2 separate regions of the Homo sapiens genome follow, and region 1 is linked to region 2. The links are contacts of gene promoters, found by promoter capture Hi-C in human tissues and cell types (Jung and others, 2019). All regions are on one chromosome and are shown on one strand. The core of a region is centred on a gene start or on the middle of the fragment in contact, and the rest is flanking DNA. Distances in the headings are between cores, read along the strand shown. Region 1 overlaps P4HA3 (prolyl 4-hydroxylase subunit alpha 3). Region 2 holds the start of P4HA3 (prolyl 4-hydroxylase subunit alpha 3).

Region 1 (6,989 bases), core at 273-2,772, 34 kb after region 2:
TGACCTCAGCCTCATTGCTTTTTCTAACCTTTCTGATATTCTAGTGTCAGAGAGAAAATTCAGCCTTGGGTTAATTGCTTCCAGGGGAGCAGGTGGTATTTTCTTCCCTTTTCCGAACAAGAAACTACTTTCTTTCTCCACTTGCATCACTCTTCAACTCTTTGACTTTTGGTTCTGTCCTCACAACTTCGCTGGAGCTGGTCTCCCAAAGGTCACCAGGGAACTTCTAATTGCCAAATCATTTTCCTGCTCACACACCTTCACTGAGTACCCATTATCCATAAAGTCCAGATTCCATATCACAGTGTTTTCAGTTTTCTATGTCATGCCCTGAGCCTGCTTCTCCAGCTGTATCTCCCGTTACTTCTTCCTATCTCCTTATTCATAATTTATTGCCACACCTCCATGTCTGTGCTTATGCTGTTTCTTCAGGCTGGAATACTCCTACATCTTTTCCATCTATTGAAATTTTATGCACTCTTCAAAATTTGGCTTAAATGTCACTATCTTACCTGAGTGCCCCACTGGAATGAACTTCTCCTTCCTCTGTGCTTCCCAGCACTTTAAAGTCTGTTTCTCAATTTTTCACTGTACCTTACTTTGTTCTTAGTTATATTTGTGTTTGTCCTTTCCCCCATAATCCATGAGCTCTTAGAAGGCAATAGCTCTGTCTTGGGGATCTCTGTAACCTAAGAGCATGTGGCATAGCACTCTGCTTGCACTCTATTTGAAAGAATGAACACACTAATCCATCAAAAGCAAAGAGCAAAGAAATGGTCTTCCATATCATGCCAAGGCTGTTCCCTCAGAGCCTTATCGTCTCCCCAGGAGACCCACTGGCTTTAGGGAGCACTTTCTCACTTCCCAGGGACGTAAATTCTGATTCCAAAGTTGCCACTTTGTCAGAACCTCAACAAGACATTCAGGAAAAGAGACTGAACTCTGCTGTTTGGCCTTTGCCCTATCCTGGCTTGTCTTGCAGTAGAGCAGAGATTTTCCTGTGTTTAAAAGTAACACTAATGTATAGTTCACAAAGTGTCTTCATAAGCATTGCCTCTCACAATCTTTATAAGTCTGTGAAGTAGATATTATTATCATCCCAATTTTATAGACAACACACTGACCCTTAGAGAGGTTAATGGTTAAATACTTGACTTAGGATCACAGAGGATCAGGGACTCGTCACATTTCTCTAAATCACAAGCTTTTCCCACTGTACCCGGGTCCCTCTGTTCAGATGTCTCTACACCATAGCAGCTTTGAAGGCAGGGGTTTTGTCTTATTCCTCTTTGTATCTCAATGCTGTGAGTTTGTTGAGGTAGAGAACAAAGTGGACTGGGCAGACTTAACATGAGGAATGCATAGGTAATTAGGCATTTATGTCTGTCTTCCCTCCCTCTCTTTCCTCCTTCCTTCCATCCTTCCTTCTGGCAATTAACATAATTCATTTGTTTATTCATTCATTCAGAGACGTCATTTAGTCATTTCGGGCAACAGATCATTGATGCTTCAATCTGTGGTGTGTTTTAGTGCCTGGCTGAAGGACACTGTTGACCCAAAACTGGTGACCCTCAACCACCGCATTGCTGCCCTCACAGGCCTTGATGTCCGGCCTCCCTATGCAGAGTATCTGCAGGTGGTGAACTATGGCATCGGAGGACACTATGAGCCTCACTTTGACCATGCTACGGTAATGGTGGAGTCAATGACCAATCCCCTGGGGTAGGGAGCCAGGGCATTATTTATTTCTCTGAGGCAGAGCTCTTGTAGGCTCTCAGGGAATACTAAGTGAAATCTTAGAACAAAGGTTCTTTTTCCAGAAATATCTGAAAGCCTTAGTTTCAAGCATATTGTTGCTGACTCATTTTCTTGTCTGCCACCATCTCCCTTCTAAAATTTGCTGGTGAGGGAAGAATGTGGCTTGTCATGGAATCATCGGACTGCTCCACTCAGGGACTTCCTAGTGAGGATTGTCCTTCCTCCAGTAACTCTTCTAGCCTCATGATCTCAACTGGCCATCTTTGCTGATAATAGCAAATAATTTTTTTAAAATTTTAGATTCATGGGGTACATGTGCTTGTTTTTTATTTACGTATTTATTTATGTATTTATTTTTTTCTTTATAGGCAGCATCTTGCTCTGTTGCCCAGGCTGCAGTGTAGTGGCACCATCATAGCTCACTGCAGTCTTGAACTCCTGGGCTAAGTGATCCCCCCATCTCAGCCTCCCAAGTAGCTCTAGGACTACACCTGGCTAATTTAAAAAAATTTTTTTTGTAGAGACAAGGTCCTGCTATGTTGCCCAGGCTTGTCTTGAGCTCCTGGGCTCAAGCGATCCTCCCACCTCAGTCTCCCAAAGTGCTGACATTACAGGAGTGAGCCACTGCACCCAGCCATACTTGTTATATGGGTATTGCATGTGTAATGGTGGGGACCACACTTCTAGTGTACCCATCACCCAACTATTGAATGTTTTACCTGACACGTAATTTTTGAACTCTCACTCCCCTTTCACCCTCCCCCATTTTGCAGTTTCCAGTGTTTGTTACCTCCATCTTTATGTCCATGTGTACCCATTGTTTAGCCCCCACTTATAAGTGAGGACATGCAATATCTTATCTTCTGCTTTTGAGTTAGTTCACTTAGGATAATGGCCTCCAGCTCCATCCATGTTGCTGCAGAGGAAATTATTTCATTCTTTTTATGGCTGGATAGTATTCTGTTATGTATATATACCTTATTTTCTTTATCAAATCAACCATCGATGGACATTTAGGTTGGTTCCATGACTTTGCTGTTGTGAATAGTGCTGCAATAAATATCTGGGTGCAGGTGTTTTTTCTGTAATATAATACTTTATTTTCCTTTGGGTAGATACCCAGTAGTGATTTTTGAGGATTAAAATGACCTCCCCAAAATTGATCTATAAATTGAACCCCAGCTTTATAAAAATTCCAGGAGGTTTATTTTTGTAGAAATTAGCATGCTGATCCTAAAATGTATATGGAAATGCAAAAAACCTAGAGCAGCCAAAACAATTTTGAAAAAGAAGAACAAATTGGAGGACATACACTATCTGATCTCAAAACTTAATATAGAGCTACAGGAATCAAGGCAGTGTGGTACCAGTGTAAGGAGAGACACATATGTCAATGGAACAGAACAGAGTCCAGAAACAAACCAACACATTTATGATCAATTGGTTTTGACAAAGGTGCCAAGGAAATTCAATGAAGAAAATACAATCTTTTCAATAGACAGTATTGGAACAATTTAATATCTATCTGCAAAATAATAATGACTTTACACCCTTACCTTACACCATATATGAAAATTAACACAAAATGGGTCATAGATGTAAATGTAAAACTATAAAACTTCTAGAAGAAAACATAAGAGAAAATTTTTGTGACCACAGGTTAGGCAAAGATTTCTTAGATATGACACCAAAGTATGATCCATAAAAGAAGAAAACAACTGATAAATTGGACCTTATCAAATTAAAATTCTTTGCTTTTCAAAAAACATCATTAGAAAAGGAAAAGACAAGCCACCAACTAGGAGAAAATATTTGCAAATCATATATTTGGTAAAGAACTTGTATCCAAAATATCTATAGAACTTTTATAACTCAGTAATAAGATAATTCAATTTTTTTTAATGGACAGAAAGTTATTTGAGTAGGCACCTCTCCAAAAAGGATAAATGAATGGCTAAGAAACATATGGAAAGATGCTCAACATCATTAGGGAAATGCAAATTAAAACCACAATGAGATAGCACTGCACTCTCTTATGATGGCTACAATAAAATAAGATTATACCAAGTGGTGGTGAGGATGTGGAGGAACTGAAGCTCTCATACACTGCTAGTGGGAATGCAAAATTATACAGACACTTTGGAAAAAAGTTTGATGGTTTCTTAAAAAGTTTAAGATTCACCTACTTATGATCCAGCCATTTCACACCTATGTATATTACCCAAAAGAAAAAGAAAATATGTCTCTACAAACATTTGTACAGAAAAGTTTATAGTAGCTTTATTTGTAATAACCAAGAATTGGGGCTGGGCACGGTGGCTCATGCCTGTAATCCCAGCACTTTGGGAGGCCAAGGCAGGCGGATCACGAGGTCAGAAGATCGAGACCATCCTGGCTAACACAGTGAAACCCCGTCTCTACTAAAAATACAAAAAAAAAAAAAATTAGCTGGGCATGGTGGCAGGCGCCTGTAGTCCCAGCTACTTGGGAGGCTGAGGCAGGAGAATGGCATGAACCTGGGAGGCAGAGGTTGCAGTGAGCTGAGATCACGCCACTGCACTCCAGCCTGGGCAACAGAGTGAGACTCCATCTCAAAAACAAAAAAAAAAAAACAAAAAAAAAACCAAGAATTGGAAACAGCCCAGATGTCTGTCAACAGGTGAACGGATAAACAAATTTTGATATATCTGCACAATGGAATGCTATAGAGAGAAAGCAGATAAGTGGGTTGCCTGAGGTTGGAGGTGAGAGCAGGGATTGACTCCTAACTGGCATGAAGGAGCTTTTCAGCAGATGGAAGTGTTCTGTGTTCTAAACTTCAATTGTGGGAAAACTCATTGAACAGTAGGCTTACAAGGGGTGAATTTTATGGAATATAAATCATATCTCAAACTGTTCCATGACAAAAAAAAAAGAGTATGTCTCTTCAGCAAGTAATTGGAACTCTGGCCTTATGATTTGGTATTTCTACAGAATAATTGTCTGTAATATTTTATATATTAATTTCTATATTTCACAGAGAACTCAAAGGTGCAATTAACCCCTCATATAGTACTTTCACTACTGACAAGTAGTTCTGTTTGGTAGTAGACAATTCTTTTATATAAGTATCTAATAAATTAGTAAAAAAAAAAATTGTATTGAGTACCTGCCAGCAAAGACGGGCACATACTCCAGTAGGTGTATATCAGAACTATATCCCATCTTTGATGCCCCCATTTTACTTCTATTTGTATTAATAGTGGAATCCTGCCTGTCCCTCTGGTGCCATCTGCATAAAATAATATGTTCTGTTTTTTTTTTTCTCAGTCACCAAGCAGCCCCCTCTACAGAATGAAGTCAGGAAACCGAGTTGCAACATTTATGATCTATGTGAGTATTGCTCTGGGCTTCTTACTTCATGACTGACTATAGCTCTACTTTATTTTATTGTTTTCAAAGCAATTTCACGTATTGATTTTATCTGGTACTCAGCGCAAAAATCTCCAGGAATTTTGCGAATTTCAGACAGCATTTTTGATAGGCACTGTAGGAGATGTAAAGAAATACAAGACAAGGTTTCTACCCTGAAAGAGGCTGACAGTGTGTAAATCTAAATATGACCTTGGTATGGGCAGTGGATTAGGATGGGAAGTGGAGCTCCACTGAAGGCCAAGAGATAGAGGGACTTGAACAACACAGGAGGAGGATCTGAGAATCTGTGTCCTTGAGGTCTCATGGACTAATCAGTGTTGAAAAACAACCCATAGATGAGGTTGTGGGGCTGTGGGGAGGGAGATGGATGAGGAATGAGGCAGCAGATTTACAAGAGGGAAGAACAGAGACACTGAGAGAAATTCAGCAAGTGCTGCCTCTGATGTTTAGTGAAAATTCTCTTCCTTATCTCTCTATAAAATCTTCAGTAAAATCTCCATGACTCCCCTTTCAAGATAAACCAATAAATTGTACTTCTCTCCTAATTCCTGGCCTGATCAGGATTCGGCCCCAGTCTGTATCATCTCACCTGTCCCCTTCCCTTCAGATCATGTGGGTTTACTTTCGTCTCTATGGACAAGCTTCCAATCACCTGTCACTGGAAGAGAATATTAGAATTAATCACTTATTAGAAGAGATACCTTACTGTTAACTGAAGGGACAAACATATATAAGGGTTCTATATAACAACCAAAGATGAAGTCCTTGTTTCAGCCTCATTAGAATAGCAGACATCCCTCACCCCAGCTTTTCCTCTTCTATTAGGACTGTCTCTGGTCTCCACAGGACAGCCAAGAAAGGGCAGTCAGAGGCCAGCATTCTGTGTAGTCTTTAATGCCAGCAATTCCAGTGTGTTTCTCTATGTGGCTCAGTTCTGTACTTCCTATGGAACTGGAAGGCTTCCACTTACAATGGTGTCTGGCCTCATTCTGATCATTCTGAGGTCAGCTATCAGGCAGGGGACACATCTTGGAGCTGCAGTTGGTTGCATCTCTGGTTGACCACTCCAGCTGTTATGGGAGGTCACAAACGGCGAAAGAATGAACTGCTGCCAAAAAACAGGGCATCTAGGGCACAATATATCTCTGTTCTTTATCCCCTCAATATCTCCTATGGCTGGTTCCCTGGTTACAGGGCCCCAGTTACTATAGCGAAGGTAGCGTGGGTATAAGAGCCCAGTAATTTTAAATGGCAAATGCATGTGTGTGTGTGTGTGTGTGTGTATGTGTGTGCATGCACTCTCATGCACTTTCACATGTGTGTGCATGCATGTGCATTTGGGTTTTAAGTATTTGAGACAGAGTGGAATGGAATACACTTTGGATTTGGAGTCAGTTGACCTAATCCTGATTTTGCCACTTACTATGTGGCCTCAGCACAGATTACATCTATTATGTGAGCTCACTTTTTGCCCTGTGCTTCCTCACAGTGTTGTTGTGAGGGTCTGATGAGATAATGTAAGGAGGGATGTCACTCTGGAAAGTTCCATACTGTATGTTTCTGTCATTGTATCCCACAGAGCAATTAAAGGAAAGGGTATCATAAAGGGGAATCAGTATCATGGGACCAGGGAAGTGCTAGATTATGCCCAAGTCTTTCATCTTCAGGTTGGGATTTCTCGAGACAATTTCAAGACAAACATTTCTCAAGACAAATGTTAAGGTTTGTGGGAAACCTAAGACTGATTTTATAGGGAGAAAATAATCTTTAAGAAGTACAGAGGATTGAGTTGAAGTCCAGTTGGTGATTTTCTGCTC
Region 2 (6,622 bases), core at 1,467-3,966:
GAAATGGGTTTCACTGGACTAAAATCAACGTGTCAGCAGGTCTCTGTTCCTTTTGGAAGCACTAGAGGAGAACCTGTTTCCTTGCCTTTCCAGCTTCTAGAAGCGGTTCACAATCCTTGACTGGTGGCCTCTTCTTTCATCTTTAAAGTCAGCAATATAGTACTAAGTATCTTTAAATCTTTCTGACTTTGCTTCCATTGTCACATTTCCTTCTATGACTTTTAAGGACCCTCATGATTGCATCGGGACTACCAAGATAAACCAGCATAATCCTCCAATGTCAAGATCCTTAACTTAATCACATCTGTAAAGTCTCTTGTGCCATGTAAGGTAACACAGTCATGGGTTTTGGGAATCAAGACATGCACATCTTTGGAGGGAGGGCATGATTCTGCCTACCACAGTCCCTAATCTTCTATGGTCAGAATACCTTCTATGGGAAGGCTACTCAGTTAGAAAGGGTTTGTGCAAGCTAGGAGCCTTGAAGCTTAAGCTTCAAAACCTTCTAGGTAAATCTGCCTCTGGTATTGATTAAGAATATGGAATCAGGATCCACATGACCTGGGTTCAAGTCCCTTCTCTACCACTTACTATGTATGTTGATTGAATTGATGTTACAGATTGGGTTTTCTAGAAGCAGAGGCACAGCTGGAGTTTGAGGTGCAAGATGTTTATTAGAGATCAGCATCTACGAAAGGGAAAGGAAGCAGGAAAAGGCAGAGGAAGAAGTCAAAGAGGCTTGACAAAGCCTTGATCAAGGTGGCAGGTGCGCTGGAGCTAGTATTTCCTGTAAGAATTGTCTCACGATGGGCCAAAATGGCTAGGCCTTGATTCCCTCACCTTGCTCCATTGCTGGATTAGGGCTGTTCCAGGAAGGACATTTCCCTAAGCGAGACTGCTCTCTGCTATAGGACAGACCCTAAAGCAGCTGACCACTGGATACTCTTCTCATCACATACCCTGCAGCTGTGCAACAAGTCCTTCTTCGAAGGGGGATCTGCATGTTACATCTCATGTCTACACAAGCAGTGGTGTGCTGGAGCTGGCTCACCCCAGCTCACAGGAGTTGTTGGCATCTTTATCCAACCACAGTCAGTGGTGACATTTTTGCATGTCGAAATTAGCCACTGTGGGAGAATTGACACCACAGAAATTGGCAAATGCCACAAACCAGAACTTTATTTTTTTCCTGGAGAGCTGGTTTACCAGCACACCTCGAATGTGGTCCACAAGTGATTAACACTGAGTAGGTTAATGATTGTCCCTACAATTCAGTCTTCTCATCGGTAAAGTGGGGCCAATAATACTGTAAGAATACTAATATTACTTAGGCTATAGGGTCAGCATGAGAATTAAATGAGTTAATACATGTAAAATACTCTGGACAGCGATTAAATGAGTTAATATATGTAAAATACTCTGGATGGCGACTGCCACACAGGAAACACCCGGTAAGTATTAACTACTATGTTTACTGTTGCCATTGTTATTACAATTATTGCTACCTTAAAAACTTCCACTGGATTTTCATAGAGGACAAGCACCTAAATTTCTTAGTATGACATGCAAAGACCTTTCACAATCTGATAGTTTCAAGCACAAGAAACTTTTCATCATTTCTGGAACTCAAACTGTTTTCCACCTCCAAACCTTGTCACGCCCATGTACCTTCTGCCAGGAAAGCCCACTCCTCCCTTGCCTGTCAACTTCCAATTTTTTTCATCCTTTTGAACCAGCACCCATCACCTCCTCTCTGATGCCCTCTCCACCCACTACATGAGGGTTCCTTCTTCAGTGTTGCCATTGCATATTGCACAACCCTCAGTTACTCTGACAGCACTTTATTGTGATTACTTGTTTACATAACTGTCTCCTCCTTTGAGTCCAGGATTGGATCTGCTATTTCTCTGTGTAGGCAGCACAGTAACACAGGTACTAATAAATATTTGTTGCATGAATGAACATTGCCTGGGAAATGCATAAGAGGGGGGAAATAGAGTACATAGCCTAGTAGGCTATAATAATAATAATAATATTTTTATTTGCTTAAGTGACTCTAAGTATATTGTGTAAAGCAGTGACTTTAGGACCCCAGAGCTTCAGGTTCTGTAAGTCCTAGATTTGTCATATACTCACATCCTGACACAGTCCTACTTATCCTTCAGATGGCTCAGATGTCACGCTCTCTGTGAGGGTTTTCCTCCCAGCTGTCCTCTTGCCGCTCTTTGCCTGCGCACCTATTCACATACGCATAATTGACTCTTCTGGACGTCCCTGTGGGGATCCAGTGGTGTTTGTGTATTCCCACTCCATGGTACAGAGGGGCGGATATTTTGGGGATCCTGTGAGCGTGGTGTTAACAATATTTGGGGATAGTCACAGCCTTAGACCTGTGAATTCATCGCTCACCCTGCCTCCGCCTCAATTTCCCCTAGTGTGATGGGCACAGTGGAAACACCTTCCCAGGGTCGCGATTTAGTGGAGGGCGGCGGAGACTGATGTTGCAGGAAGCCCCCACGCATTCCGAGGAGCTGAGGAATAGAGAGCGAGGTGAGGCGTCGAAACAAGGAAGGAGTCAGGGGGCGTGGAGCGAGACTGGGCGGTGGACGGGACGGGCCGGGCCGGGGCCAGAGGGCGGGGCCTGAGCCGGGAGGGGGCGGAGACAGGGGCGGGGCAGGCGAGGGCGGGAGCGGCTGCCGCCGCGCGGCCAGGACTGTCTGAGGGGAAGTTCGCGAGCGCTGGCTATGGGTCCTGGGGCGCGGCTGGCGGCGCTGCTGGCGGTGCTGGCGCTCGGGACAGGAGACCCAGAAAGGGCTGCGGCTCGGGGCGACACGTTCTCGGCGCTGACCAGCGTGGCGCGCGCCCTGGCGCCCGAGCGCCGGCTGCTGGGGCTGCTGAGGCGGTACCTGCGCGGGGAGGAGGCGCGGCTGCGGGACCTGACTAGGTGAGGGCACGACGAGTGGGAGCGACCGAGGGGCCTCAGTGGGATACACTGTGCCGCAGGGTGGGGTGACTCAGGTTGAGTGTGACCCCAGGCTCATTGTCATGCTGCGTGGGACCCCAGACCCACTGTCGCACCGTGCGACTGAGACATTGTGGCATGGGGTGGGGAGTGGCTCTGAGGGCCAGTGTGACCCCCTAGACCCATTGTCACCCTGTGTGGGACCCTGACACTCCGTGGCATGAGGTGTTGGCGAGGGTTGGGTCACACTGGGACTGCAGACTCCATCACACACATAGTGGCACCCCCCATATCCAGCGTCACACAGCAAAGTTGATACACTGTGGAAGAGCGGGGCGGGGTGACTCTAGGACCTCACAATGTGCTGTGCAAAGCTGTGTGAGCCCCAGGCCCTGTGTCACACTGACACAGACACAGTGGACGGTGCTGTGACAGAGACACTGTGAGAGTGACATGGAGAGAATACGGTGACGCTTTAGCTACGCAAGTATTGACCTTTCAAGGGGGGATCGTGAAACACCGCATGACCTAGTGAGCTGATGTTTAGTGTTAGGAGTCAGGTGACAGTCTTCCACCATATGTGAGGTTTACATGTCATTGGGACTGGATGGGCACGACACTGTGGATATCATACTCTGCATGTGAATGATGCTGAGTAACTGTACAGGTCGCTATATGAATAATGCTTCAGTTCATTAATTCATACAACACATATTTTTGAGTGCCTACTAAGAGCCAGGCAGTGTTCCAGGCAGTGGGGATAAAATGGTGATCAAGAGCCAACTCTGCCCTCGAGGAGTTTGGGTCTGTAGCACCATGACTGTTAATCAGAGATGTCCACTGCCGTCTACGTCTTCAGTTCTTCCTTCTCTTTACACATGTAGAAGCTCTCTAAATACTAAATAAATGATAACTGAGATGTTATATGTGTGTCAACATATTTGATATCAAAAAAGCACTGTGAAAAAACATACTTGATGCAGAAGATACTGAGTGTAGCACACAGCAGTGGATGCTCAGCTAATATAGTTTTGGGGTACAGTCAACAAACTCTAGTGCTACACACTGTGGCATAAAAGGTTGTCAGACTTGGGATGCTGAGGCACCATAGTCATGTATCGACTTAGCAGTGTCCAACTGACAAAAATGAAAGATAAATGATTGTATATGATACCATCTGTATGAATATGTGCTGCGCCTTCTCTGCCTGGGACATCAAGAAGCCTACAACACTGACAGAGTGGTTATGACCACGTCACTATTTGGATATATTAATATTGTACTTATATCATGTGACCTTATCATTGAGCAAAGACAGCACAATGCACTGCTTTTAAAACTTTGCGTGAGTGTGTGTGGTAATAATACTGATTCTGGGGTGACATGAGAAGAAGGTATGTGGAATGGGGAGTGACTCTGAGGTCCAGTGTGACCCCCAAACCCATTGTCACCCTGTGCGAAACTTTGTGACCCCATGACTGTGAGAGAGAGCTATGTAGAAGAGAAGCATTTTGTGGGTGGAAAGTATTTGCGAGAGATCTTGTTAATAGTGACTGAATGAGCTAATGTGGTGCTTGTCCTTAAGTATGTGGCTTGCGTATAAACAGCTTGAAATAGTGTGACAATATACAATATAGGTATGTATTAATTTTAACAATAAATGAAGATCATTTCAATAATTATTGTCACTCTTTGGAATAGCATAGTTGTCTAGTATTCTATGGGTCCATGTTGACCGAGCCAAATGTTTTCTTTTTGTTCATAGCCCAGAGTCATTGGAGTCCAAGCTTATTAGTGGAAATAGGACAGAATTTTTTCTCTTTGATTTCAGAGCCCAGCATTCTCCCTGCTACCCATGCTTGTTCTCATACCAGTAATCTCTTTGGGTAGCTCAGATGGAGACGGGAGTGGGGGGTCAAAATCCCCCTGCTGGTCTTTCAGGTTACATTCTCAGAAGAGAGCACTTGAAGCATTTTGGCCAAAGCAGCTGGCCAACCCCATTCCACCATGCTGGTCTCCTTCACTGTCTTTCCACCACTGTCATTATCACAACTTTGTCACAGCAGGAGGTCTCATACAAACCATATCTCATCTGATTCTCTCTCACACACAATGCTTTGAAATAGATTTGTATTACACTTGTTAACTATTGAGAAATCAGTTAAAACATGAGAAAACTAAAGTCTAGTTGCTCACTCAAGATTGTATTAATAAATCTAATAGGTAGCAAATCCAGGACTAGGACACAGTTGTTTTGATTGTTTATCCAACTTTTTTCCTACTATGCTATGTTATCCCTACCACTTCTTTTATCTGTTATACCAAGACATAGACCAAGCCCCTAACTAATTGAGGTTTTACTAGTGGCCACAGTACATGGTGGTTAACAGTGAATTCAGGAGTTTAACAGACCTCTATTTGAATCGTTGGCTCTGATCTTGGACAAGTTACTTTACCTCTTTGAGCTTTAGTTTCCTAATCTGTAAAATGATGATAAAAATAGTACCTACCACCATAGGGTTTTTGGAAGGATTAAGAGTACCATGTAAAAGTTTTTATCATTGTACCTGGCATGTAACAATTGATGGACAAATGCTAAGCCTTTATGCTTATTATTTTATTTTATTTTATTTTAAGACCATCTAGTGAAACTAGGCCCCACTTTTGGCTCTAAGTATTAACTAGGATTGTGACAGCCTAGATAAAAAAACAAATCAGAAAAGTTCTCAATTATTTTCTCAGGTGACTTATGAACAGTTAATTTTGTAGTTTAGTTTGATATTTTGAAGACTGTCATTCTGTCATTCTGTTCTCTAGTGACTGCTCTAAAACCCAGTGAAATGTTTGCTTTTTAAGAGACAGGGTCTTGCTCTGTCACCCAGGCTAGAGTGCAGTGGCTCTATCATAGCTCACTATAACCTCAAACCCCTGGCTCAAGTGATCCTTCTGCCTAAGCCTACCAAGTAACTAGGACTACGGGTGCACACCACCATGCCTGGCTAGGGTTTTTTTGTTTTTGTTTTTGTTTGGTTTGGTTTGATTTGGTAGAGACGGGGTCTTGCTCTCTTGCCCAGACTGGTCTTGAACTCCTGACCTGAAGTGATCCTCCCTCCTCGGGCTCCCAAAGTGTTGGGATTGCAAGCATGAGCTACCGTGCCCAGCCTTTATGTTTGCCTTTTAAAACAAGAATTTTGGCAGTTCTTGCTAATTTTTCTATACTCCCAATCTGGTGATTTTATGTAACTTGAGAGGCTATTTCCAAGGCTCTCAGTTGAGATAGAAAAATGCAGTATTCTTGAGGTTGAAACTACTCCCTACTCCAAGTTAATGAATAAAAATTATACTTGTTATAGTATATATAGTTATATGCCAGTATGGTACATATACTAGTTATATATATAAAAAGAGTTTATCCTAGCTTTTGTTGTTGCTGTTTTTGCAGTTTAAAACACCACCAAGAGTGAGAGAGAAGTGTCAGCAGCAATTTTTTCTGTGCTAAGGATTAAGCATTAATAATGTCCCAGAAGAACTGATACAAAACCATTTCTGAATTCCAAAGGCAAAACATATTGAAGTGAAATAGCCCATGTATTGTGGTTGGATAACCTGCCCAGGCTATGTTTAATGCAGGGATTGGGTTGCAAATTTTATGTGCAGATT

What was found. The method cuts DNA at HindIII sites, captures the fragments that hold promoters and counts their contacts. A contact is called where the count stands out against the background at its distance.
Region 1: a contact is called between a fragment that was not itself captured here and the fragment with the promoter of P4HA3 in region 2, in 1 of the 25 tissues and cell types used here (IMR-90 fibroblasts).

What each region holds. Positions count from the first base shown.
Region 1 is chr11:74,271,686-74,278,674 of GRCh38, reverse strand. It overlaps P4HA3 (prolyl 4-hydroxylase subunit alpha 3), which reads left to right. Exons shown (of 13, transcript NM_182904.5): 9 at 1,531-1,690; 10 at 5,068-5,130. Among named protein-coding and RNA genes, the nearest start is that of P4HA3-AS1, 36 kb to the left of the region's middle. The HindIII fragment of the contact is 3,974 bases long and covers 1-3,509 here.
Region 2 is chr11:74,307,734-74,314,355 of GRCh38, reverse strand. It overlaps P4HA3 (prolyl 4-hydroxylase subunit alpha 3), which reads left to right and starts at 2,716. Exons shown (of 13, transcript NM_182904.5): 1 at 2,716-2,944. The coding sequence starts at 2,745. It overlaps P4HA3-AS1 (P4HA3 antisense RNA 1), which reads right to left and starts at 2,994. Exons shown (of 7, transcript NR_120556.1): 1 at 2,907-2,994; 2 at 2,410-2,531; 3 at 2,137-2,237. The HindIII fragment of the contact is 9,884 bases long and covers 1-6,622 here.